2 separate regions of the Homo sapiens genome follow, and region 1 is linked to region 2. The links are contacts of gene promoters, found by promoter capture Hi-C in human tissues and cell types (Jung and others, 2019). All regions are on one chromosome and are shown on one strand. The core of a region is centred on a gene start or on the middle of the fragment in contact, and the rest is flanking DNA. Distances in the headings are between cores, read along the strand shown. Region 1 overlaps ZNF20 (zinc finger protein 20). Region 2 holds the start of ZNF69 (zinc finger protein 69).

Region 1 (5,680 bases), core at 2,601-5,100, 240 kb before region 2:
CCCCAGTGCTCCACATTAAAGATACATGCCCACTTTGCTGTTTCTTCAGAAATGTTAAAATGTTTACCAGAGAACTAATAAATGTTGTTATGGCTGGAAATACTCACTGATGCCCAACTCTTCTATAGATTGAGTTGGTTTAAGAGGTCTACTTTGTATTGCAAGCATTGTTGTTTCTACGGATTAGCGAGCCTGTTCTTGATTAAACCAACTAGATGGGAGCTTGTTCCTCTGCTGCATTGTGCAGTGATTGGTCTCACCAAGGGCTTTTATGTGAGAAGAGCCACCTTGCTCTTATCAGGAAATTTCAAGCATTTGCTGTTATTCACAACTGAATGTAATGTCTCACTTCGTTTTTAACTTTGTATGAGTATACCTGACTAAAAACACTAATGCGGTTTCTTGGCAACAAATACTTCTGTTCATGTATTTTAGAAATAAGCTTATTAACTGTTTATAACAACTGCATACTAACAATTATTATTTTTTAATGAAGAAGCTACATTACAACCTCCCATTAACATCATGTATTAGATCAAGTTGATAATGTTACCATGTTATCCGGTGGTCACTGTGAGTCAGTGTTGCCATGTGGATGTCAGGCATATTTTTCCTCATGTAGATTTTACTTTTCATGCTTATATTCTTAGTTTTTATCTGGATCATGAATTTTCATCTATTCTAAATACCAAAGGTGATCTCATGTTCTTATGAGTGACTTCTGACCAAAGACCACCAGTGGCATAAGTGTCGTCAAAGAGGGTGTAATAATATACTGTGGTAATGAATATGACCAAAAGCCATAGATGACTGTGAGATGTGTGAGATATTAAAAGATAGTCACATTTCGTGAGAAGAGAAAAATTTGGGGTATGTTTGCAATTTAAAGTGTTTTCTTCTGTCACATTTCAAGACATGGTTAAAGAATGAGGTTTTTTTTTATTTTAATTTTTTTTTTTTTGAGACGGAGTCTTGCTCTGTCGCCCAGGCTGGAGTGCAGTGACTCGATCTCGGCTCATTGCAAGCTCCGCTTCCTGGTTCACGCCATTCTCCTGCCTCAACCTCCCAAGTAACTGGGACTACAGGTGCCCGCCACCGCGCCTGGCTAATTTTTTGTATTTTTAGTAGAGACAGGGTTTCACCATGGTCTCGATCTCCTGACTTCGTGATCCACCCGCCTCGGCCTCCCAAAGTGCTGGGATTACAGGCATGAGCCACTGTGCCCTGCCAAGAATTAGTTATTTTTGTATTGATCCATCATGGTCACTGAAGAGCATCATCTCACATTGCAGGTGTATGACATGTGCCTGTTCAGGGGCAAAAGACTCGGCCTTCTGGCGAGGGGAGGCCAGCCATCAGACTTCTGGACCAGTTTTTACCATACTATTCTCTAAACCCTGATATATTCCCTACAATTTATGGACATTGTTAACCATAACATACCTCAGTTAAAATCTATAAATTCACTTCTTATCAAGGTATATACTATGATTTTATTTATTTATTTTTTGTAGAGATGGAGTCTCCCTGTTTCCCAGGCTGGTCATTGACTGCTGGATCATGTGATTCTTCTGTCTCCATCTCCCCAAGTTCTGGGATTACAGACATGAGCCACCACAATTGGCTACTACTTTTTTAAAAAAATCACCTTGAGTCCTATGGGGCCAATATGTTTTTGAAAACTGAATTTCCTGCCCAGTAAAGAACAAAGTCAGCATCACTATTCCAATCAAGTCTTTCTTTCTCTGGTAACATGCTGTTGATGCAAACTTGTCAGGAACCCTCTTATGCTAATATTATGAAGCTAATGACATCGTGGAAAAGTCATGCATGGAACAATCCGATCATTTCCTTTAAGGTGTCATGGGTGCTTCTCTTCACAAAAGCTTATTTCAGTCTCCCTAGAGTAAAAATCCCAGTCCCAGCAGACATAGAAGCAATCACTGACTGACCAAACCTTAACTATGTGTGATGACATATGGAAAATACCTTGATTTGTGAGATATGAATTTTTTTTTTTTGGAGACAGAGTCTGGAGGACAGTGGTGCAATCTTGGCTCACCGCAACCTCTGCCTCCTGGGGTCAAGTGATTCTCCTGCCTCAGCCTCCCAAGTAGCTGGAATTACAGGCACCTGCCACCATGCCTGGCTATTTTTTTGTATTTTTAGTAGACAGGGTTTCACCATGTTGGCCAGGCTGGTCTCAAACTCCTGACCTCATGTGATCCACCTGCCTCGGCCTCCCAAAGTGCCAGGATTACAGGTGTGAGCCACCATGCCTGGCCAAAAATTCCTTTTTTTTTTTTTGAGATGGAGTCTTGCTCTGTTGCCCAGGCTGGAGGGCAGTGGCGCGATCTCGGCTCACTGCAAGCCTCCGCCTCCCTGGTTCACGCCATTCTCCTGCCTCAGCTTCCCGAGTAGCTGGGACTACAGGTGCCCGCCACCACGCCTGGCTATTTTTTTGTATTTTTTTTTTTAGTAGAGACAGGGTTTCACCATGTTAGCCAGGATGGTCTCGATCTCCTGGCCTCGTGATCCGCCCACCTCGGCCTCCCAAAGTGCTGGGATTATAAGTGTGAGCCACCACGCCTGGCCCAAAAATTCTTATTTTGACTATTCATGTCTTATTTTTGCACTTTTTCACAAAGCAAGGTCAAAAAGCAAAGGAAAAATCCTTTAAGATCAATGTACTTAGGTTGAAAATGTGTTTTTTCTCAGGAAAAACTTGTAATTTATATAATTACAATCCTCAGTTTATTTGCAGCATCACCAAATTTTCTTACATATTTCAAATGTGAACTTAAGATATATATTTTTCTCATTATTTACATTTTGCTTCCTACCTATGGCTTTTTTTTTTTTTTTTTTGAGACAGAGTGTCGCTCTGTTGCCTAGGCTGAATTGCAGTGGCACGATCTCAGCTCACTGCAACCTCTGCTTCCCAGGTTCAAGCAAGTCTCGTCACAACCTCCCAAGTAGCTGGCACTACAGGCGAACACCACCATGCCCAGTTAATTTTTGTGTTTTTTGTAGAATTGGAGTTTCACCATGTTGGCCAGACTGGTCTCTAAACTCCTGGCCTCAAGCGATCCATCTGCCTCGGCCTCCCAAAGTGCTGGGATTATAGGCATGAGCCAACATGCCTGGCTCCTCTAGACCTTTTAAATCTTTTACTCATGATATTGGTCAGCCCACGGTCAAAATAATTCATAAAAGGTATATACAAAAATTCAACACCACAATGAAAGTTAAATTCATTTGTTTAGAACCACTCAAGCAACTCAGGTGTACACAGATAGACCTGTGGCAACTGGTGAACAATTAAATGGCACAGAAGTGGCTGGGTGCAGTGGCTCATGCCTGTAATCCCGGCACTTTGGGAGGCCGAGGCGGGCGGATCATGAAGTCAGGAGATTGAGACCATTCTGGCCAACATGGTGAAACCTGTCTCTACTAAAATACAAAAAATTAGCCGGGCGTGGTGGCGGGCTCCTATAGTCCCAGCTACTCAGGAGGCTGAGGCAGAGGAATCCCTTGAACCCGGGAGGCAGAGACTGCAGTGAGCTGAGATCGTGCCACTGCACTTCAGCCTGGCAAAAGAGCAAGACTCTGTCTCAAAATAAATAAATGGCACGGAAGTTGCAATAATGACCTCTGCTGTGCAGTACTCTCTTGGCAGAGATACACAAGAACTCCAATAAGGCCCTCATATGATATGCAGAACTGCCTCAAACATCATGTGACCATAGAACTTTGCCAAGGACAGTCTTTTTGTACATCTCTGCACCTGGCTTACCCAAAGATTGGACTGGGCGCATTTCTCAAGCCATTGTCTACTGAACGTTCTTTGTAGCGTGTGGGGCAATGACGATTGCCTAGGTGTAATTTCCTAATCGCTGGGGTAGGTCTGGTTTCTGAGGGCCCAGCAGAGGAACTCAGTTCACAAAAATGGCTTCCTGTAGTTTCTGCTTGATACTTCCTATTCTGCCATCTTCCCAGAATCCTCTTTCCTGACTTCATATACTAACACGTCATTTCAGATCTCACTACAGATGTCACCACCTCAAGACACTGTCTTCTTTTCCGCCCCCCTTACCCCAACTTGAAACTCAAGGTCACACTCTCTCACCCATTACTCCTATTTCATTTAGTGTGTAGAATTTTTTCAACACACTTGTCAGAATCTGGAACATAACGTTCACAGGGTTGATTGCTCTCTGTTTAACAAGGTAAAAAGTTAAGTCATGTAGGCTGGGTGCGGTGGCTCACGCCTGTTATCCCAGCACTTTGGGAGGCCAAGGTAGACAGATCACGAGGTCAGGAGATCGAGACCATCCTGGCTAACATGGTGAAACCCTGTCTCTACTAAAAATACAAAAAATTAGCCGGGCGTGGTGGCGGGCGCCCGTAGTCCCAGCTACTCAGGAGGCTGAGGCAGGAGAATGGCATGAACCTGGGAGGCAGAGCTTGCATTGAGCCAAGATTGTGCCACTGCACTCCAGCCTGGGTGACAGAGCAAGACGCTGTCTCAAAAAAAAAAAAAAAAAAGTCATGTAAATTTAAGTGTCACCTTTCTTTTCTTTTCTTTTTTTTTTTGAACCTTTTCACCAACTGTTACACACTTTTTTTTTTTTTGAGACAGAGTCTCGCTCTGTCGCCAGGCTTGAGTGCAGTGGTGCGATCTCAGCTCACTGCAACCTTCACCTGCTGGGTTCAAGCAATTCTCCTGCCTCAGCCTCCCGAGTAGCTGGGATTACAGGCACGCACTACCACACCTGGTTAATTTTTGTATTTGTATTTGTATTACAGATGTGAGCCACCGCGCCTGGCTTACACCCTATATTAAAAAGTATTTCAGGGGCCAGGCACGGCGGCTTATGCCTATAATCCCAGCACTTTGGGAGGCCAAGGCGGGCGGATCACTTGAGGTCAGGAGTTCTAGACCAGCCTGGCCAACATAGTGAAACCCTGTCTCTACTAAAAGTACAAAAATTAGCCGGCTGGGGTGGTGGCCACCTGTAATCCCAGCTACTCGGGAGGCTGAAGCAGGAGAATCACTTGAACCTGGGAGGCAGAGGTTGCAGTGAGCTGAGACTGCAACACTGCACTCCAGCCTGGGCAACAGAGCAAGACCTTGTCTCTAAAATAACATAACATAACATAACATAACATAACATAACATAACATAACATAACATAACAACATAACATAACATAAATACAGTAGAGTAGAGTAGAGTAGAATTTCCAACAAAGTCCTTTGAACCATTTTCCAGAAAGGCAACGTCAATGAAGCTCCCTCTTGTGGTAAGGGCGGCATTAACATCCACACACTGTTGTGACTGGATTTCTCAAAATTGCACAGGGATCTAAGAGTGGAAAAACTCAAAATGTTTTTCCTGTGCATTCACACAATGCAATATCTCTATGACCAAATATGTGGAAGATTTTCTCACACAGCAAACAAGCCATCCATTCTCCACTGAACACCACCTGAGTGTCCTCTAATTCACGTGTCCCCAACTCTCGGGTACAGACGGGTACCTGTCCATGGCCTGTTAGGAACTAGGCCACACAGCGGGAGGTAAGCAGAAGCGAGTGAGCGTTACTGCCTAAGCTCTGCCTCCTGTCAGAGCAGCAGTGGTATTAGATTTTCTTGGGTTGATAACCCTATTGTGAAC
Region 2 (5,541 bases), core at 2,245-4,744:
TTTGTTATTTTTGGAAAAGATGGGGTTTCCCTATGTTGCCCAGGCTGGTCTCGAACTGCTGACTAGAAGTGATCCTCCTGCCTCGGCCTCCCAATGTGCTTAGAAAACAGATCTAAGCCATCATGCTGGCCCAGAGTAGCTTTCAACAAACTCCCTTCTCACTGCACTTTGTGACTCGTCTTGAATTCTTTCCTGTGTGAGATCCAAGAACTCTCTTGGGGTCTGATCAGGACCTCTTTTCCTGGTAATATAAGAAAGAACTTAACTTCTAATTTTAGAGTACTGAGTCCATTTCTCTGGAGTCTGTTTTTTTTCCTGAATGGGCCATTGCTATCTTTCTGCTTGAATAAACTCTTCAAACTGAAATCTGAACCTTTGAATTATTTCGGGCTGGCAAGTCCAAATAAGGCGACTGCATCTCTGCAACCAATCAAGCATTTATCTGGTTTGTCTCCTCATGTACCTTATAAAAGCTGAGGCTTCAACCTATAAACTAAAAATAAAAATCTATCTTCTGGCCTGGCGAGGTGGCTCACATCTGGAATCTCAGCACTTTGGGAGGCCGAGGCAGGTAGGTAACTTGAGGTCAGGAGTTCGAGAACAGCCTGGCCAACATGGTGAAACCCCATCTCTACTAAAAACACAAAAATTAGGCAGGCGTGGTGGTGCATGTGGGGAAAAGAGAGATCAGATTGTTACTGTGTCTACATAGAAAAGGAAGACATAAGAAACTCCATTTTGGTATGTACTAACAAAAATTGTTCTTCTTTGAGATGCTGTTAATCTGTAACTTTAGCCCCAACCCTGTGCTCACAGAAACCTGTGCTGTATTGAATCAAGGTTTAATGGATTTAGGGCTGTGCAGGATGTGCCTTGTTAACAATATGTTTGTAGGCAGTATGCTTGGTAAAAGTCATCACCATTCTCCATTCTCGGTTAACCAGGGGCACAGTGCACTGCGGAAAGCCGCAGGGACCTCTGCCCAACAAAGCCTGGGTATTGTCCAAGGTTTTCCCCCACTGAGACAGCCTGAGATCCGGCCTCGTGGGAAAGGAAAGACCTTACCATCCCCCAGCCTGACACCCCTAAAGGGTCTGTGCTGAGGAGGAATAGTGAAAGAGGGAGGCCTCTTTGCAGTTGAGATAAGAGGAAGGCTTCTGTCTCCTGCTCGTTCCGGGGAATGGAATGTCTCTGTGTAAAGCCGACCATTCATTCTATTCTGAAATAGGAGAAAACCGCCCTGTGGGAGGCAAGATATGCTGGCAGCAATACTGCTCTGTTACTCTTTGCTACACTGAGATATTTGCATAAAGTGAAACATAAATCTGGCCTACCTGCACATCCAGGCACAGTATCTTTCCTTGAACTTATTCATGATACAGGTTCCTTTGCTCACATGATTCCCTGCTGACCTTCTCCCCACCATCACCCTGTTGTCCTGCCACACTCCCCTCGCCAAGATAGTAAAAATAGTGATCAATAAATACTGAGGGAACTCAGAGACCAGCGCCGGTGCAGGTCCTCGCATGTTGAGCGCCGGTCCCCTGGGCCCACTGTTCTTTCCCTATACTTCGTCTCTGTGTCTTATTTCTTTACTCAGTCTCTTGTCTCTACCTGACAAGAAACACCCACAGGGGTGGAGGGGCAGGCCCCCTTCAGGTGCGTGCCTGTAATCCCAGCTACTCAGGAGGCTGAGGCTAGAGAATTGCTTGAATCCGGAAGGTGGAGGTTGCAGTGAGCCGAGATTGAGCCATTGCACTCCAGCCTGAGTGACAGAAGGAGACTCTGTTTTAAATAAAAACAAAAACAAAGTACCTTCCCAGGTAAGTGAAGTGACCGGCTCTTGGCCAAGGGAACCCCCAAAAAACCCTGAAAATTGAGTGCCTCTGTATGACAGGATGGGAGGTGAGACAGGCCTCCTTATACCCTCTCCCTTTAGGAGTTTACATGCAGCAACTGACGCACATTCATGTAAAAACAGACATTATCTGACTGGAAAAACAGACTCCTTGTGGCAAGAAGATACCAAATTACAAACAAGACCTAAGGCCACGCAAGACAAGGGTAAGTCACACCTTAGAATTCATAAAATCTAGAGAAACAGGTCTGTTTTTTGGCTGGGATGGAATCAAGTGGCAGATAACAGACCCCCTTCCTTCAGCATTCCTTCCTACCTCCTCCAAACTTTAGACAAAGCTTCACACTCTCAACCAGCTGCCACCTACAGAATCCCTCAACCACCTGTGCCTTCTAACCCCCCTTCCACAGGTCCCGCCCTTTCTGTTTTTTGTTTTTGTTTTTGTTTTGAGACAGAGTCGCACTCTGTGCTGAGGCTGGAGTGCAGTGGCACTGTGTGGGCTCACTGCAACCTGTCTCCTGGATTCAAGTAATTCTCTTGTCTCAGCCTCCCGAGTAGCTGGGATTACAGGCGTCCACCATCACGCCCGGCTAGTTTCTTTTTTATATTTTTAGTAGAGACGGGGTTTCACCATGTTGGCCAGGCTGGTCTTGAACTCCTGACCTCAGGTGATCCGCCCGCCTTGGCCTCCCAAAGTGCTGGAATTACAAGCGTGAGCCACCGTGCCCGGCCAGGTCCCTCCCTTTCTGCCTAAGGAAATTACACCTTCCAGGCACTAATTCATGATTTTCCCTGCAATTCCTGTCTCTCTAAAATGAATAAAACCAAACTGTCTTGAGCCGCCTCGGGACCACTTACTCCAGGCTTCTTGGGGTTGTTTTTCCCTCGGCCAAGGTCTCTCCTATTCGGCTCCGAATAAACTTCTTTATTTTACATAGTTTGGCTTTTTCCGTTGACAAACCACAAGCCAGGACTGGGTGTGTCTCATTCGTGAATCGCTGTTTGCTCAAATGAACTCTTTGTTAACGTTCCTCAGTTTAATTTTTAACAGGAGAAAAAGTGGACACTGGGGGCCCCACAGACCGCTGCTCCTCCCAAGCACGAACCCCACACCCGAGTCGGGATCACCCACATGACCCTCCCGTGGCCCCCGCACAATCTGGGTAGACGCGTGGCTGCGGGCGCGGAGCTGCCCATAGAGGGCTCTGGAACCGCAGTCGCCGCGCAGAGACGAGACAGGACGCCTGGTGTCCCGGCTACCGGCCCAGCCACACCGAGCAGTCGAGGGGACCGAGGGCCGAGCGGCTCCAGGAGGACTCGGTCCCAGATCCCAAAGTCGCCCGCAGGAAAGCCAGGGTCTCGCCACAGTCGGTTCCGGTCGGTCCAGGCAGCCCCTCCCCCGTCTCACGACACCCGGCCCCAGACACGCACCATTTCCTGGCTTTCAGATGTCCCGGGGTCCTCTCTACACCTCCTGTGACTACAGCAGGGCATAGCGTAGGTGACAGAGTGACAGAAGCCTGGGCAGAGGAACCAGGTCCCTCTCGGGGCTGGAAAGACCGGATCCCAGCCGCAGCCCGCGCAGGGACAAAGGTGAGGTAAGGAATGCGACCCCCTCAGTGTCTGGAGGAACAGTGGGCAGGGACCCGCCACAATGCCTCTGATTGGATGGAATGCTAGGCCCCGCCCCCCATGTCTGAGTGACAGCGGAAGCCCTGGGTATCGGGCCCTGCAGAGCCAGACAGACGGATTCTGACCACAGCTTTTCCAAGGGCGAGCTCCTTCCTGCACTCTGGTTATTGGATATTTGCATTTCAGCCAAACTTGCTATTGATAGAGGAGAACACTAGCGTCTTCCTCACTCAAGGGACTGTCCCTGCTCCTTCGTTCTGCATGGGGTCACAGGAGTGTGCAGGGAATTTCAGATTCAGTGTCCACAGGAGCCATCTCCTGCCTCAGAGCAGCAGGGGAACCGAGACCAGGCCAGACACGACTGCGCCAGGAGGAGAGGCATATGTCTTGGAGCGGGCCGCAACTGGGGATGAGGCATGGCTAAGACTTGCTCTCACACCCCCATCCCCTCCTCACAGTGTGAAAATGCTTCCTCCTTCCAGATCTTCATTTTCACCAGCAGGAAACTCTCTCCAGGGGTTAAGTTAAGCTTTTGACCTAAATAAACTGCCAACTTCATGAACCCTTTATCCAGGTGACGCTCCCAAACATTTCTGTCTCTAGCCTGATCTTCACACATTTTCTTTTCTTTTTTTTTTGAGACAGAGCCTCGCTCTGTCCCCCCAGGCTGGAGTGCAGTGGTGCAATCTCCACTCACTGCAACCTCCGCCTCCTGGGTTCAAGTGATTCTCCTGCCTCAGCCTCCCCAGCAGCTAGGATTACAGGCACATGCCACCGCGCCTGGCTAATTTTTTGTATTTTTAGTAGAGACAAGGTTTCACCATGTTGACCAGACTGGTCTTGAACTCCTGACCTCAAGTGATCCACCCGCCTCGGCCACCCAAAGTGCTGGGATTACAGGCGTGAGCCACCGCGCCTGGCCCACATTTTCTTTATATATATGAATATCTCTGTCGGATATAAAATGCTTTAGGAATAAATTCTTGGTCCCACGAAGTAAAACTAGCACTTAGGGGAAAGTTTCATTTGTTTAGCAAGGCAATTTACTTCTGCAGAAGTGTGCCACTTGTGTCAATCAAGATCACAAGAGCACAGAGAACAAAGGTCACCGGGGGTTTTTTTATCCTTAATGCGGTCCCTATCTCTGTGTCACTCCTTCATGGGCTGGGGTTCGACCACACAATCTGAGCTGACCCGACTGGCTACTTGTACGTATTTTTCTAAATATAGAAGGAGAGGGGAACGTGAGGTACAGAGATGGAGCGTGTGAGACGTGCAGTTTCGGGGGAACAATGGGTACAGGTAACCAAGGGAACAGATGTGAGTTATTGATTAGAGCTGACGGGAAGGGGGTAGGCTGTTTTACAGTAACTAGGGGCAAGGAGGAACAGGAAAGTTGAGCTGGAGAACAAAAGACAAGGAAGTTAGCAGGCTAAGTCTTTGAAGAGAAACTCAGAGAGGCCAGGCGCGGTGGCTCACGCCTGTAATCGCAGCACTTTGGGAGGCTGAGGCGGGTAGATCACGAGGTCAGGAGATCGAGACCATCCTGGCTAACATGGTGAAACCCCGTCTCTACTAAAAAATACGAAAAATTAGCCAGTCGTGGTGGTGGGCGCCTGTAGTCCCAGCTACTCGGGAGGCTGAGGCAGGAGAATGGCATGAACCCAGGAGGCAGAGCTTGCAGTGAGCCGAGATCACGCCACTGCACTCCAGCCTGGGTGACAGAGTGAGACTCCGTCTCAAAAAAAAAAAAAAAAAGAAACTCAGAGAAATTTACTGTATGTTACAATTCCTCCCTTTTAATTTTCTTATGATTTTTTCTCTTTAAACTTTTTTAACGTGTTTTGGCTTTGCTGTTTGATTTGATCTTTTAAAAGGAAAAGCTTACTTGAATAAGGTGGAGGAGAACTAAGGGAGGTTTCAGTAAATGCTGTTCGTACAATCCTTTGTATTAGCCTACGGATGCATGGTATGACACAACGCCTAACAAGAATAAGTACACCTGTTACGACTGTAAAAGAAATAAGTATTGAGGCTATGATTCTTTATTG

Evidence for each region. Contacts are between HindIII fragments. The study calls those that stand out against the background at their distance.
Region 1: a fragment that was not itself captured here is called in contact with the fragment with the promoter of ZNF69 in region 2 in 11 of the 25 tissues and cell types used here (H1 embryonic stem cells, IMR-90 fibroblasts, bladder and 8 more).

The regions. Positions count from the first base shown.
Region 1 is chr19:12,126,534-12,132,213 of GRCh38, reverse strand. ZNF20 (zinc finger protein 20) reads left to right here. Exons shown (of 4, transcript NM_021143.4): 4 at 1-864. It overlaps ZNF625-ZNF20 (ZNF625-ZNF20 readthrough (NMD candidate)), which reads left to right. Exons shown (of 8, transcript NR_037802.1): 8 at 1-864. Among named protein-coding and RNA genes, the nearest start is that of ZNF20, 11 kb to the left of the region's middle. The HindIII fragment of the contact is 9,523 bases long and covers 1-5,680 here.
Region 2 is chr19:11,885,735-11,891,275 of GRCh38, reverse strand. ZNF69 (zinc finger protein 69) reads right to left here and starts at 3,494. Exons shown (of 4, transcript NM_001364730.1): 1 at 3,290-3,494. The coding sequence starts at 3,352. RefSeq lists an enhancer at 3,248-3,297. The HindIII fragment of the contact is 10,336 bases long and covers 1-4,696 here.